Linked DNA regions of Homo sapiens: regions 2, 3 and 4 are each linked to region 1. Evidence: promoter capture Hi-C in human tissues and cell types (Jung and others, 2019). All regions are on one chromosome and are shown on one strand. Each heading gives the region's core, a stretch centred on a gene start or on the middle of the fragment in contact. The rest is flanking DNA. Distances are from core to core; before and after follow the strand shown.

The links. The method cuts DNA at HindIII sites, captures the fragments that hold promoters and counts their contacts. A contact is called where the count stands out against the background at its distance.
Region 2: a contact is called between a fragment that was not itself captured here and the fragment with the promoter of CAMSAP3 in region 1, in 1 of the 25 tissues and cell types used here (liver).
Region 3: a fragment that was not itself captured here is called in contact with the fragment with the promoter of CAMSAP3 in region 1 in 2 of the 25 tissues and cell types used here (mesendoderm cells and thymus).
Region 4: a fragment that was not itself captured here is called in contact with the fragment with the promoter of CAMSAP3 in region 1 in 2 of the 25 tissues and cell types used here (dorsolateral prefrontal cortex and spleen).

What each region holds. Positions count from the first base shown.
Region 1 is chr19:7,594,289-7,597,456 of GRCh38, reverse strand. CAMSAP3 (calmodulin regulated spectrin associated protein family member 3) reads right to left here and starts at 1,594. Exons shown (of 17, transcript NM_020902.2): 1 at 1,307-1,594. The coding sequence starts at 1,454. RefSeq lists an enhancer at 10-615 and a silencer at 1,455-1,894. The HindIII fragment of the contact is 16,585 bases long and covers 1-3,168 here.
Region 2 is chr19:7,933,806-7,936,973 of GRCh38, reverse strand. TIMM44 (translocase of inner mitochondrial membrane 44) reads left to right here. Exons shown (of 13, transcript NM_006351.4): 4 at 1,829-1,909; 5 at 2,736-2,885; 6 at 2,971-3,110. Among named protein-coding and RNA genes, the nearest start is that of TIMM44, 8.3 kb to the left of the region's middle. The HindIII fragment of the contact is 6,270 bases long and covers 1-3,168 here.
Region 3 is chr19:7,895,013-7,898,180 of GRCh38, reverse strand. It overlaps LRRC8E (leucine rich repeat containing 8 VRAC subunit E), which reads right to left. Exons shown (of 3, transcript NM_025061.6): 2 at 2,440-2,582. The coding sequence starts at 2,577. Among named protein-coding and RNA genes, the nearest start is that of MAP2K7, 7.3 kb to the left of the region's middle. The HindIII fragment of the contact is 4,312 bases long and covers 1-3,168 here.
Region 4 is chr19:7,856,024-7,859,191 of GRCh38, reverse strand. EVI5L (ecotropic viral integration site 5 like) reads right to left here. Exons shown (of 20, transcript NM_001159944.3): 11 at 3,124-3,168; 12 at 2,068-2,100; 13 at 861-1,001. Among named protein-coding and RNA genes, the nearest start is that of PRR36, 17 kb to the left of the region's middle. RefSeq lists an enhancer at 1,090-1,875. The HindIII fragment of the contact is 4,169 bases long and covers 1-3,168 here.

The DNA.
Region 1 (3,168 bases), core at 345-2,844:
GTGCAGCTGGACTTCACATTCAATTCTGACACTCCACGTTGAGTTCTCTACAGCCTGGTAACCTTGGAAGTGAGGAGCTGGGGCTGTCCTGGCTGTCCAATGCCCAATCTCTTTCTTCCTCAAGCAAATATCTGCAGGGAGGTAGACCCCAGAGTGGGAAATGCATGCATGGAACGACGCAGACAGAGACTGTCTGGGAGAAAGAGGGACAGGCTGGGGCGGAACCAGGAGACGGACAGCTGTCACTGAGACCCACACCCAGAACAGGTTGATCTGGGAAGGCCAGGGAGAGGGGGGATGGGCTGTGCCAACACCAGTGGGCAGAACCAGTGGGAGAAAAGGATGTACCCCCACAGCTCCCCGCTGGAAAGCCCAGACCTTAATTAACCCCTGTCTTCTCTGGCCAGGCCCTGACTCCTAGCTCTGGCCTGGGGTTGTGAAGCTGCCCAAAGCCGAGACTGAGTGTTTCCAGGGCCTCTAATCCCGGGGACCCGGGATTACGGCATCCTCCCCATTAGGGTGGCTCGGGCTCTCAGGCAAGCGGGCCTGGGGGAGGGAGTGAAGGATCTGCTCTAATGGGAGAAGGCCCCGCAGCCGGGAGGAGCGGGGGGCCCACCCCAGGCGATCTTGTACTACCCATTTCCCTTCAGCTGGGCTCGCCAACCTCCCCAGTAAAATGGGGCCATAAGTCGCAGCTGCCAGGCGCTGGAGGGGGCTATGGAGGCGAAAGGGGGTTCCCAGAGCTCCCCGGTCGCCGCCCGCAGCGCGGCCAGGGCCGACGCGGGGTGTGTGTTGGGGCCTGGGGGTCGTGCGGTGGTGGAGACCGGAGCGCTCGAGACCCCCCAGCGAGGTCGGGGTCTGGGTCTCCAGGGTGTGTGGCGGGGGAAGAGACCGAGAGGAGATCCTCGCAGGGGCGTGATGTGTGTAAAAGAGAAGAAGGCGTGCAAGGGAAGGCCTTGGGGGTGCGGGAGGCGGGAACGAGAGGTCCGCACGGGGAGACCCCACCCGGCCCGCAGACCCCGCCCGGCTCACCTGGAGGCTTGGACGCCGGGGACCCCCGCGCGGAGCTGGGCCGCGGGCCCCACCCCCACCGCGCTCCCGCAGCCGGCGGGGCAAAGTCCACCGCCCGGGCCGAGCAGGAAGCTCGGAGGCCCCGGCGCGGCAGGGGCCCGAGCCCGGGGACCCCCGGCGGCCGGCGCTATTGTTCCCACGGCCCCCTGCCTTCCCGGCCCGGCGCCCCGCCCCCCCCCAGCACCTGCCGCGCCCGGCCCGCCGCCCCCGACCCCGGTCCCCCGAGCCCCGGTACCTGCGCCCCCGAACGCGGCCCGCAGCACCCACGCCAGGCTGGCCGCCGCCTTGGCCCGCGAGAAATCGTACTGGTCCAGCGACTTGATCTCGGGCACTAGAAAGGTCCTCCGCAGCGGCCCGGGCCCGGGGGGCGCCGCCTCCACCATGGCGGCGCCGGGGCTGCGGGCGCCGGGTCCGCGCTCGGACTGGGCTGGGCTGGGCTGCGCCGCGCTCGCGCCCCAGCCGGGCCCGCTGCTGCTACCGCCGCTGCCGCCGCCGCCGCCGCCGCCGCTGCTGAGCCAGGTGCGGCCGCTTGCGCTGGCGACGCTGCGTCGGGCCCGCCCCGGGGAGGAGCCCAGGTGCGCCCCGCCCCCGAACCCGGACCCGGACCCTGGCGCGCCCCTGCGCCCCGCCCGGGCCCCTCACTGCAGTGTGCACGGAGCAGCAGGGGCGGGGCGGAGGGGGGCGGCCTGGACTGCGGCGATGGTGGAGGGAGCTTGCGGAGGACTGAGTGTGTATGTGTGCGCGCGCGCGTGTGTGAGTGTGTGCGCGCGCGCCTAGCTTACTGGAAAGGATTAGGGACCCTCTGTGTGTGCCAGCCCCAGTGTCTACCCTTAGGCGTAGGAGCTCCTGCAAGTGCTTGCAATAAACGCCGGCCCTCAGGCAGAGAGTGGTTGGGTGCACCTGTTTCTGATTATGTTAGTGAAGGCACAAGAATATGAGTGTCTTCGTATCTGTGTATCTCTGAATACATTTGGGTGGTGACCAAGTGTATTGGGGGGTGTCTAGGGGTGTGTGTGTGTGGGGTATGTATCTGGGCACGTGTAAGTGTGTGTTTAATTTGTTGTGTGTACAAGGATATGTATTATATAGATGTCTGTATCCTGAGGATGGATGGAAGTGATGAGTGTGTGTCTGTTTTTTGTTTTTGTTTTTGTTTTTGTTTTTGAGACAGGGTCTCACTCACTCTGTCTCCCAGGCTGGAGTGCAGTGGCGCGATCTCGACTCACTGCAACCTCCGCCTCCCAGGCTCAAGCGATTCTCCTGCCTCAGCCTCCCGAGTAGCTGGGATTACGGGGTTGCGCCACCACTCCCGGCTAATTTTTGTATTTTTAGTAGAGTTGGGGTTTCACCATGTTAGCCAGGCTAGTCTCAAACTCCTGACCTCAGGTGATCACCCGCCTCAGCCTCCCAAAGTGCTGGGATTACAGGCGGCAGCCACCGTGCCCGGCTGTGTGTGTGTTTTTGGAGTGCTGTGAGTATGTCTATCTCTGTGCATCTGAACGTACTGGTGTGTTGTATGAGGCTGTTATTGATGCCTCTGTCAATGCAGGAGTATGGAGAGACATTGAGAGTGTGTGTATTTCAGGCCGAGAGCGGTGGCCACGAGTGTAATCCCAGCACTTTGGGAGGCCAAGGCGGGCAGATCACTTGAGGCCAGGAGTTCAAGAGTAGCCTGGCCAACATAGCAAAACCCCGTCTCTACTAAAAATAAAATTTTTAAAAATTAGCCGGGCATAATGGTGCATGCCTGTAATCCCAAGTACTCGGGAGGCTGAGGCGGGAGAATCGCTTGAACCAGGGAGGCAGAAGCTGAGATAGTGCCACTGCACTCCAGCTTGGCCAACAGAGTGAGACCCTGTCTCAAAAAAAAAAAAAAAGTGTGTATATTTCTGCAAGAGTGTGACTATTTGTGTCTATGAGTGTCCTTGCGTAGCTGTACTGGGTGTATTTGCAAGTGTCTTTGTGTATTATTCTGGTATCTGCAGTGTGTGCTGGGAGAAGGCTCTGTGTGGAGGTGAGGCTGTGTGTCTAAGTGGGTTTGTATTTGAGTATGTGAATCTGGCTATATGCACATGGATGTGTGATTGATTGATTGAT
Region 2 (3,168 bases), core at 395-2,894, 340 kb before region 1:
CACACCACTACTGCCCAGCTAATTTTTGTATTTTTAGTAAAGACAGGGTTTCACCATGTTGGCCAGGCTGGCCTTGAACTCCTGACCTCAAATGATCCACCTGCCTTGGCCTTCCAAAGTGCTGAGATTACAGGTGTGAGCCAGTGCGCCCAGCCCTATATATCTTTTTATAGAGACGGGGTTTCACCATGTTGGCCAGGCTGGTCTCAAACTCCTGGCCTCAAGTGATCTGCCCGTCTCAGCTTCCCAAAGTGCTGGGATTACAGGTGTGAGCCACTGCTCCCAGCCTGTCATTATTAATTGTCACTTCTCTTCTTGAGCAGCTGCCAAGCCCTGGCTTCTGGGAATGGCTCTGCATTCCTTTATTTGTAAGGGCCCTGCGAGGCAGTTACAGTGTCCCCATTTTACCAATGAGCAGCTGAGCCTCAGAGATGCAGGCACCTGCCACGGGTCCCTTGCATTTTGGTTTGGTTTGGTTTCATTTGTGTTTTTTTGTTTGTTCGTTTTTTGTTTTTCTCCTTTGAGATGGAGTCTTGCTCTGTCAGCCAGGCTGGAGTGCAATGGTGCGATCTCGGCTCACTGCAACCTCCGCCTCCCTGGGTTCAAGCGATTCTCCTGCCTCAGCCTTCCAAATAGCTGGAATTATAGGCGCCCACCACCACGCCAGGCTAATTTTTGTATTTTTAGTGGAGACGGGGTTTCATCACTTTGGCCAGGCTGGTGTTGAACTCCTGACCTCAGGTGATCCATCCGCCTTGGCCTCCCAGAGTGCTGGGATTACAGGCATGAGCCACCGTGCCCAGCCTAGTTTGGTTTTTTGAGACAGGGTCTTGCTCTGTCACCCTGGCTGGAGTGCAGTGGTGTGATCACAGCTCACTGCAGTTTTGACCTTCCCATGTTCAGGTGATTCTCCCACCTCAGCCTCCTGAGTAGCTGTGACTAAAGGCATGGGATACCACGCCTGGCTAATTTTTTTATATTTCTAGAGACAGGGTCTCGCCATGTTGCCTGTGCTGGTCTCGAACTCTCTGGGCTCAAGCGATCCTCCCATCTCAGCTTCCCAAAGAGCTGGGACTACAGCTCACATGCCCAGCCCCTCTTTATCATTAATGCAGGGGTCATCTGAAGACATAGCAGGCTGAGTTTGGAGTGGGATGGATGGAGCGGGAGACATAAGACCAAGCTGTGGTGGCTGGAGGCTGGATGAGGGGCACAGTGATGACAGGCAAGGCCACCTCCTACCACCCGGTGAAAGGTGAAGGCTGGGCCTCCTGTTCTCAGGAGGTAGCTGCCAAGCGGGGACCCGAGTCTGCCGGCCTTCTGAGCAAGGAGCTCACCGCTGCTGAGACCCTCAATCCAAGCCATGTGGGCAGCCGGGGGCCCTGGAGGCAGCACATGCTGGCAGGTGCGGGGAGGGAGGGGCTGCGGAGAAGATGCTTCTTGGACCTTTGGCTGTAAGAGAAATGTCACTGCCGTGTCAGAACATACAGACTTAAAGACACAACGGTTGGCCAGGCACAGTGGCTCACACCTATAATCCCAGCACTTTGGGAGGCCGAGGCGGGTGGATCACTTGAGGTCAGAAGTTTGAGACCAGCCTGGCCAACGTGGTAAAACCCTGTCTCTACTGAAAATACAAAAATTAGCCAGGCATGGTGGTGGGCCCTGTAGTCCCAGCTACTCGGGAGGCTGGGGCAGGAAAATCGCTTGAATCTGGCAGGAGGAAGTTGCAGTGAGCCGAGAGCGTGCCACTGTACTCCAGCCTCGGCAACGGAGACATTGTCTCAAAAAAAAAAAAAAAAAAAAGGACACAGCGCTCTTTACCTAGAAAACCATCGAGTCAGAAACCGTGCGGACGAGCGAGGTGCTACGGAAGAAGCTTGGGGAGCTGACGGGCACCGTGAAGGAGGTAACAGTTCCACGCCCGCCTGGAGCCGCTGGGGCCATCAAAGTCCCCTGGCCGCTGGAGGCTGGAGGAAGAGTCGGCTCCTGGGTGGGGGTGGCTTGGCAGCAGTGGGTGGCATGGGGCGTGCTGCCACCCTCGGGAAGGTTTCAGGAGTTCCCGGCACATGCAGGGTGAGGTCAGACTGGCAACCTTGCATGACCGTTGACCCAGGGAGTCGGCAGCAGTAAGTGCTGCTAGCCAGGACTCGAGGAGAACATGAAAATGTTTTTCCTGCCTAAAAATAGGAGGAGAGGGGCCGCTTCCACCCCCTCCCGAGGGTAGAGGCGGGAGGCAGGATTCCTGGGGTGCTGCGGCTCTCCTCGGTTGTCTGTTCTGTCCAGCTTTGCGCAGCATGGGGCGCCCTCACCGCCGTTCTTTCCCCGGGGTCCCCTCCTTGGGAATCCTTGCTGCCAGGCAGTTCCCGGGTCTCCAGAGGACTCCTGCCCATTTTGGAAAGGGGCCAGCAGACCCAGCGTCTCACCCAGAGCCCAGGGCCAGCATCCCGGAAGCCGTGGCGGTGTGCTCATGGCTCTGGGGGTGCCGGTGTGCTCATGGCTCTGGGGGTGCCGGTGTGCTCGTGGCTCTGGGGGTGGCGGTGTGCTCGTGGCTCTGGGGGTGCCGTTGTGCTCATGGCTCTGGGGGTGCCGCGTACCACAGGAGCACAGAAGGCCTCTGCCGGCCTCGGGGAACCAGATCCGCCCTTCTCTCCGGCAGGAATTCATTCCTCCTGCCCCGCCCCCCGGCCGCCAGGGCCGGTGCCAACGCCCCCTCTCTGTGTCTGTCTCAGTAGAGCCTTCACGAAGTCAGTAAAAGTGATCTCGGCCGGAAAATCAAGGAGGGCGTGGAGGAAGCAGCCAAGACGGCCAAGCAGTCGGCCGAGTCGGTATCCAAAGGCGGGGAGAAGCTGGGCAGGACAGCGGCCTTCAGAGCCCTCTCCCAGGTGAGCCCAGTCCTGGGCTAGGGCATGCAGCCTGGGGCGGCCGAACCCAGACACCCACCCCAGCCCCGCTGTGCCTCCCTCGCAGGGGGTGGAGTCCGTGAAGAAGGAAATTGACGACAGCGTCCTGGGACAGACCGGGCCCTACCGGAGGCCCCAGCGACTCCGGAAGAGAACGGAGTTTGCGGGAGATAAGTTCAAGGAGGAGAAAGTGTTTGAGCCAAACGAGTAGGTACCAGCCCGTGGCCCTCGCTGCCCCCATTTTGGGCAGCTTTCACTGCTGTCC
Region 3 (3,168 bases), core at 669-3,168, 300 kb before region 1:
GCTGTGTGCAGTGGTGCAATCTTGGCTCATTGCAACCTTCCCCTCCTGGTTCAAGCAATTCTCCTGCCTCAGCCTGCTGAGTAGCCGGGGCTACAAGCACGCACTACCACGCCTAGCTAATTTTTGTATTTTTAGTAGAGATGGGGTTTCACCATGTTGGCCAGGCTGCTCTCGAACTCCTGGCCTCAAGTGATCCCCTGCCTCAGCTTCCCAAAGTGCTGGGATTACAGGAATGAGCCACCACAACTGACAAAGCACTGGTCTTTGTCTGAGAAAAGGAGCTGGGTTGAATCGTGTCCCCACAAAAGATGTTGAAGTCCCAACTCCGAATCCTTAGAATGTGGTATTATTTGAGCTGGGTCAGGCGGCTCCTGTTTGGTAATAGGGTCTTTGCAGAGGTAGTCAAGACAAAGCCAGTAGGGTGGGCCCAGTATGACTGCGCCTTAGAGAAAGGGGAAACATAGACACAGAGACAGACACAAAGACAGAAGATGACGTGAGGATACAGGGAGAGGCTGGGTGCGGTGGCTCAGGCTTGTAATCCCAGTGATTTGGGAGGCAGTGGGAGGGGGGGCCAAGCGGGGGTGGTAGAGGAGGATTGCTTGAGGCCAGGAGTACAAGGTTACAGTGAGCTATTATTGCGCCACTGCACTCCAGCCTAGGTGACAGAGCTTGCTTAAAAAAAAAAAAAAAAAACTGTCTCGACCAGGCGCAGTGGCTCATGCCTGTAATCCCAGCACTTTGGGAGACAGAGGCAGGCTGATCCTGATCACGAGGTCAGGAGTTCAAGACCAGCCTGGCCAACATACTGAAACCACGTCTCTACTAAAAATACAAAAAAATATTAGCCGGGCGTGGTGGCACACGCCTGTAATCCCAGCTACTTGGGAGGCTAAGCCAGGAGAATTGTTGGAACCCGGGAGGCGGAGGTTGCAGTGAGCCGAGATCGCACCACTGCATGCCAGCCTGGGCGACAGAGGGAGACTCTGTCTAAAAAAAAAAGAAAAAGAAAAAGAAAAATACTGGGAGAATGTCATCTACAAGCCAAGGAACTCTTGGAGCTGCAAAAATCTAGGAGGGAAGCTTGGAAGATTCTCCCTCACTGACAACTGACGCCTTGATCTCAGACTTCTGGCCTCCAGAACCAGACCCAGAAGAGGAAACATTTCTGGTTATTTAAGCCACTCAATCCCTGCTACTTTGTTACAACAGAAGTAACAAACTCATATAGCAACTGCAGTCCTTTCCAGATTCTAGGGATAAAACTGAGCATTGTGAAAATATGGGGCTGGACACAGTGGCTCACACCTGTAATCCCAGCACTTTGGGAGGCCGAGGTGGGAGGATGGCTTGAGGCCCGGAGTCCGAGACAAGCCTGGGCAACATAGCAAGACCCCTGTGTCAACAAGAAATTTAAAAATTAGCTGGACGTGGTGGTGTGTGCCTGTAATCCCAGCTACTCTGGAGGCTGAGGCGGGAAGATCACTTGAGTCCAGGAGTTCAAGGCTGCAGTGAGCTGTGATCATGCCACTGCACTCCAACCTGGATGACAGAATGAGACCGTGTTTCTTTATTTTAATTTTCAATTATTTTATTTTATTTTTTTTAAGATGGAGTCTCGTTCTGTCACCCAGGCTGGAGTGCAGTGGCATGATCTCGGCTCACTGCAACCTCCACCTCCCAGGTTCAAGCAATTTTCCTGCCTCAGCCTTCCAAGTAGCTGGGATTACAGGTGTCCACCACCATGCCTGGCTAATATTTGTGTCTTTAGTAAGGACGGGTTTTCACCGTGTTGGCCAGGCTGGTCTCAAACTTCTGGCCTTAAGTGATACTCCCACCTTGGCCTCCCAAAGTGCTGGGATTACAGGTGTGAGCCACCATGCCCGGCCCCTGTCTCTTTTTAGCCAAAAAGAAAAAAAAAAAAAAGAAAAAAAAAGAAAGGGTCAGGTGCAGTGCCTCAGGCCTGTAATCCCAACACTTTGGGAGGCCCAGGCAGGCAGGTCACTTGAGGTCAGGAGTTCGAGACCAGCCTGGCTAACATGGTGAAACCCCATCTCTACTAAAAAACTACCAAAATTAGCCAGGCGTGGTGGTGGGCGCCTGTAATCCCAGCTACTCAGGAGGCTGAGGCAGGAGAACCGCTTGTACCCGGGAGGCAGATGTTGCAGGGAGCTGAGATCATGCCACTGTACTCTAGCCTGGGTGACAGAGTGAGACTCCGTCTCAAAAAAGAAAAAAAGATATGGAATGGCATAGCAATGTGGGGACTCCGGTGCTCCTGGCTATGGAGGTAAGGAAGATAAGGGGTCTGGATTGGCCTTTGAGTGGGGCTCTGTCTTCAGTTTCCTCTCTTTCTTGGGTGATGAGAAGGCTTCCCGACTTCCCCAGACACCTGCCCCGCCCCTCTGGTCACACCCCCTTGCCAGGGGAGGGCCTCACCTGGAGGGTGCAGCCAAAGACCCCAATCATGAGCATGGCCACGGTGAGGTACTCGGCCAGCACGTCCCACCAGGGTTTGAGCACCTTGAACGCAGGCTGCTGTTCCGTGAACTGCTTGAACTCGGCCACTGGGATCATGCTGCCTGTGGGACGGGACGAGACGGGGGGTGTAGAGAGAGACCCTCAGGATGGGAGGCTCTGCAGGGGGTCCTCCGAGGAGCCGGACACAGGCAGGCCTGTGACCCTCCCTGCCCAAACTTGTCCAAACCACCAAAGTGTGTGCCCCCACTTCCCTCTTAGCCTGGCCTTAGTCACCCTCCATGCAGACGTCACCACCTGCCCAGAACCAAGCGGCCACTGTTCCCCTCTGGGCACCCCTGCACCTGATCTGACTTGTCTGACCTCGAAGAGCACATGAGGGATAGTCCACAGGGCCGCCGCCCTCCAGCCTCCTCGGGTGGCCCCCTCCCCAAAACGAGGCATCCCTCTCCCACCCCTGACACCAAGGCCTGAAAACATCTGCCTCGATGCTCCCTGACTGCAGACACTCAGCGTCTGGGCCAGCCCCGGCTCCCACCGCCACCAGGCCTGAAAGCGTTCCAAGGCTCAGGACTTCCGGGGCGTAGGCCCCTCCACCCCCTCCAGGGGCACTCTGGGCACCACCTCCAACCTCTAACCGGAAAAGCCGGCTGGAGCCTGGCTCTGGTTACTAGGGCCCCAGGGGCAGGG
Region 4 (3,168 bases), core at 204-2,703, 260 kb before region 1:
TGAGATGGAGTCTTGCTCTGTCACCCAGGCTGGAGTGCGGTGGTGCCATCTTGGCTCACTGCAACCTCCACCTCCCGGGTTCAAGTGATTCTCCTGCCTCAGCCTCCTGAGTAGCTGGGACTACAGGTGCGCACCACCATACCCAGCTTATTTTTGTATTTTTATTAGAGATGGGGCTTCATCATGTTGGCCAGGCTGGTCTCGAACTCCTAACCTCAGGTGATCCACCTGCCTCAGCCTCCCAAAGTGCTGAGATTAAGGCGTGAGCCACTGCACCAGGTCGCAGTTAAGTTCTAAAAGCTTTCAGGAGAAGAAAATCTTGGGGTGGGGCCCCACTCATGGGCCTGCCCATCATGGGACCCAAAGTTCATGGCCCTCAAGACACTCAAGGTGCCCCCTCAGCCCCACCCTGCTGGCTCAGAGCTCCCCAAACAGTCCCGGACTGCCCTGCTCCCATTCTCCATGGCTGGCCCCCCAGGGACACCTAACAATCCTTCAGACCCTGGGGACAGGCAAGAGCCTCCGTAAGGAGTCACAGCCCTGTCTGCTGCCTGTGACACAGAGGAAACCCTGCAGGGACAGCCCGGTCTTCAGAGGCCTCCGTGCTGAGGCTGGGGGTTGGGAAGTCAGATACTGCAGACACACTATGAGGTGGCAAGAAATGGATATCAGGATGTCTCAGAATGTGGAGCTGCTGGGGGAGAATCTGCGCTTGTCTCTGGGTTCCCCTTACCCCAGAAAGGAACAGGAGGGCCAGGTGCTGAGGCGGGGCAGATTATGAGCCCTGAAAGAAAACCGTTGGGCGGGGGCGGGGGCGCGGGTCATGGCCCCGCCCAGCAGCCCCGCACACCCGCCCCTACCTGCTGCTCCTGTAGCTGCCGGATGGTGCTCTGTGCCTTCTGCAGGTCCTCGGCCGCCGAGCTGCACTGCTGCCGCACCACCGCCAGCTCCCGCTTGATGACGTAGTTCTCCTCCGCCTCCTGCGCCCGTGTCACTTGCCCCTGAGAACAGCGAGGACAGGGGGCAGGGGGAGGCCGTGACCCTCGGCTCCCACCCAAGGCCCTGCCTCCCGCCACAGGGGGAGGCCCAGAGAGTGGAGGTGGGGGGAAGTGAGGTGGGGGCCTCCCGTACTCAGAGCCTGGGATGAGCGTCCCACTGGGCCTGGGGACGTGGGTGGGTGACAGGCAGGAATAGGACACCTGGAGGAGCCCGGGAGGAACAGAGCTAGCCCTGGGCTTGGAAAGCTCCATCTCCTTCCCCACTCTGGCTCTCAGTCTCTGCCCCAGTTGGGATCCTTATCCAGGGGCACAGCGAGGCCACCTGTGCCTATTCATGCCAGACTCTGCCGGTGAGGGTGAGGATCTGGGGACAGCTGAGGCCCCGGCAGGAGAGGGCTGGGCTCCCCAGGGCATTCACCTCTCCCAGCGGCATCTTCTCTAGTCCTGGGCTCTGGGGCCTCCACCTGCCTGGAGCTAAGACCCCCTTTTTTCCCCCACCTCATCTTTGTCCCCTACCCAACTTGGGCCCCCCATTCCAGGCTCAAAGCCACCAGGTGGCGGGTGGCAGCTTCCAGATAAAGCCATTCAAGATGAGGTGGCAGCAGGAGCAGGTGAGCTAGAGAAGGTGGTAGCAGGCATTGCAGGTAGGAGCAGAGAGCAGCAGCGTGAGGGCCGGGCGTGTGTGTGCGTGTGTGTGTGTGCATGTGTTGTGTGTGTGTGTGACCGCAGCACTGCACACACCAGGGCCTTATGTGAATATGGTTTTAGGTTCCCCAGCCCTCCTGGGTCCCCACCCTGTGTCGCCCGGAGGAAGCTTTCTGTACATGCATGTGGACATTCACACCCAAACGCACTCACAGCCCCTCCACACACACCCTTCTCCCCACTTCACATGCCCCGCCCCCCCGGGAAGCCTCTGTGTCCCCCAGAAGCGGTCCCCAGCTGCTCCATGCATGGCGCCAGGCCTGCCCGCAGAATGGCAGGGAAGAGGCGGTTACTGGCTGTCATGTGCAGGGTGCAGGGAAGGGGCCAGGAAGGAATCCGGAGAGGGGATAAAAAGCTACAGTACCTGGATTAACCTATCAGCCAGAGCAGCGCTCTCCTACCCGGCGAAGGGGGTTCCCAGCGACAGGGGGAGGAGGCAGAGCGGAAGGCGCGGGGACAGGAGAGGGGAGACAGACAAGAACCACTTGTCACTAACGCAGTGGACTATCTCTAGAAGCGGGGGAGAGAGGAGGGAAGACCAGAGAACCAGCAGGAGAGGACCCGGAGGAAGACCAAAGCTAGAGCCAGCTCCGTCCTGGAGAGGGGTTCGGTGTGAGCGGGGAGGTCGGGGGTGCCCGCGGCTGTGGGGGAGGCCGCAGGGCTGGGAAACCCACTGTCCCACCCTCCAGGGTCAGCCGGGCCGCTGCTGGCTGGAAAAACTGTGGGGGGCAGGGGGACTTTTGGCTTCGTGCGGACCTCCTGGAGAGTGGGAGAGGAGGGGGTGCGTTGTAATTTTAAGGCAGAACAAGGCTTTGGGGTGAGGGCAACCAAATCCGGCTGCCAACCCACTTCCTGTGGCCAGTGGAGGGTCAAGTGAGGACGAGTGAGGAGCAGGAATTGGGGGCTCCCGGGGCTGGGGCTCAGTGAGCCCCCAATTCCACCCCCATCTTTAGCATGTTGGGGAGCAGAGTCCGGGCTGTGGCTCCCCACCATGGCGCCACGCTTCTCCTCCACTGGGTTTCCTTTCCTTTCTTTTGAGGGCAAGACTTCCAAATTACAGGGTGGGGTGGCTTGTGGCCCAATTACGGGGCTCGTCCATCAAAGTGGCAGTTCTCCCTCCTCCTCACCCCTCCCCGTCTGTGCAGCCGGGGAGGGCACAGAACACAAATGGATTCCCGTGGCTGCAGGCCACTGGGTTGTAACTCGCCCCCACTCCAGGATTAATCACCATACGAGTCGCCCCCAGTTGCAGGGCACTCCAAATCGGGTTCAGGTCGGGTCCTGGGGCAGGAAGGTAGGGCTGCTTAGTCCTCCAGAGAGGAGAAGACTTGGAGGAGTCCACCCCAGGTTAGCGGCCATGCCCCGCATGGTGGGTCACACCCCATGGCGACCATGTCCTCACAGTGGCCACGCCCCTCACCTTCTCTAGGGTTTCAATCCGCTGTTTCAGGAGCCGGTTCTCCGT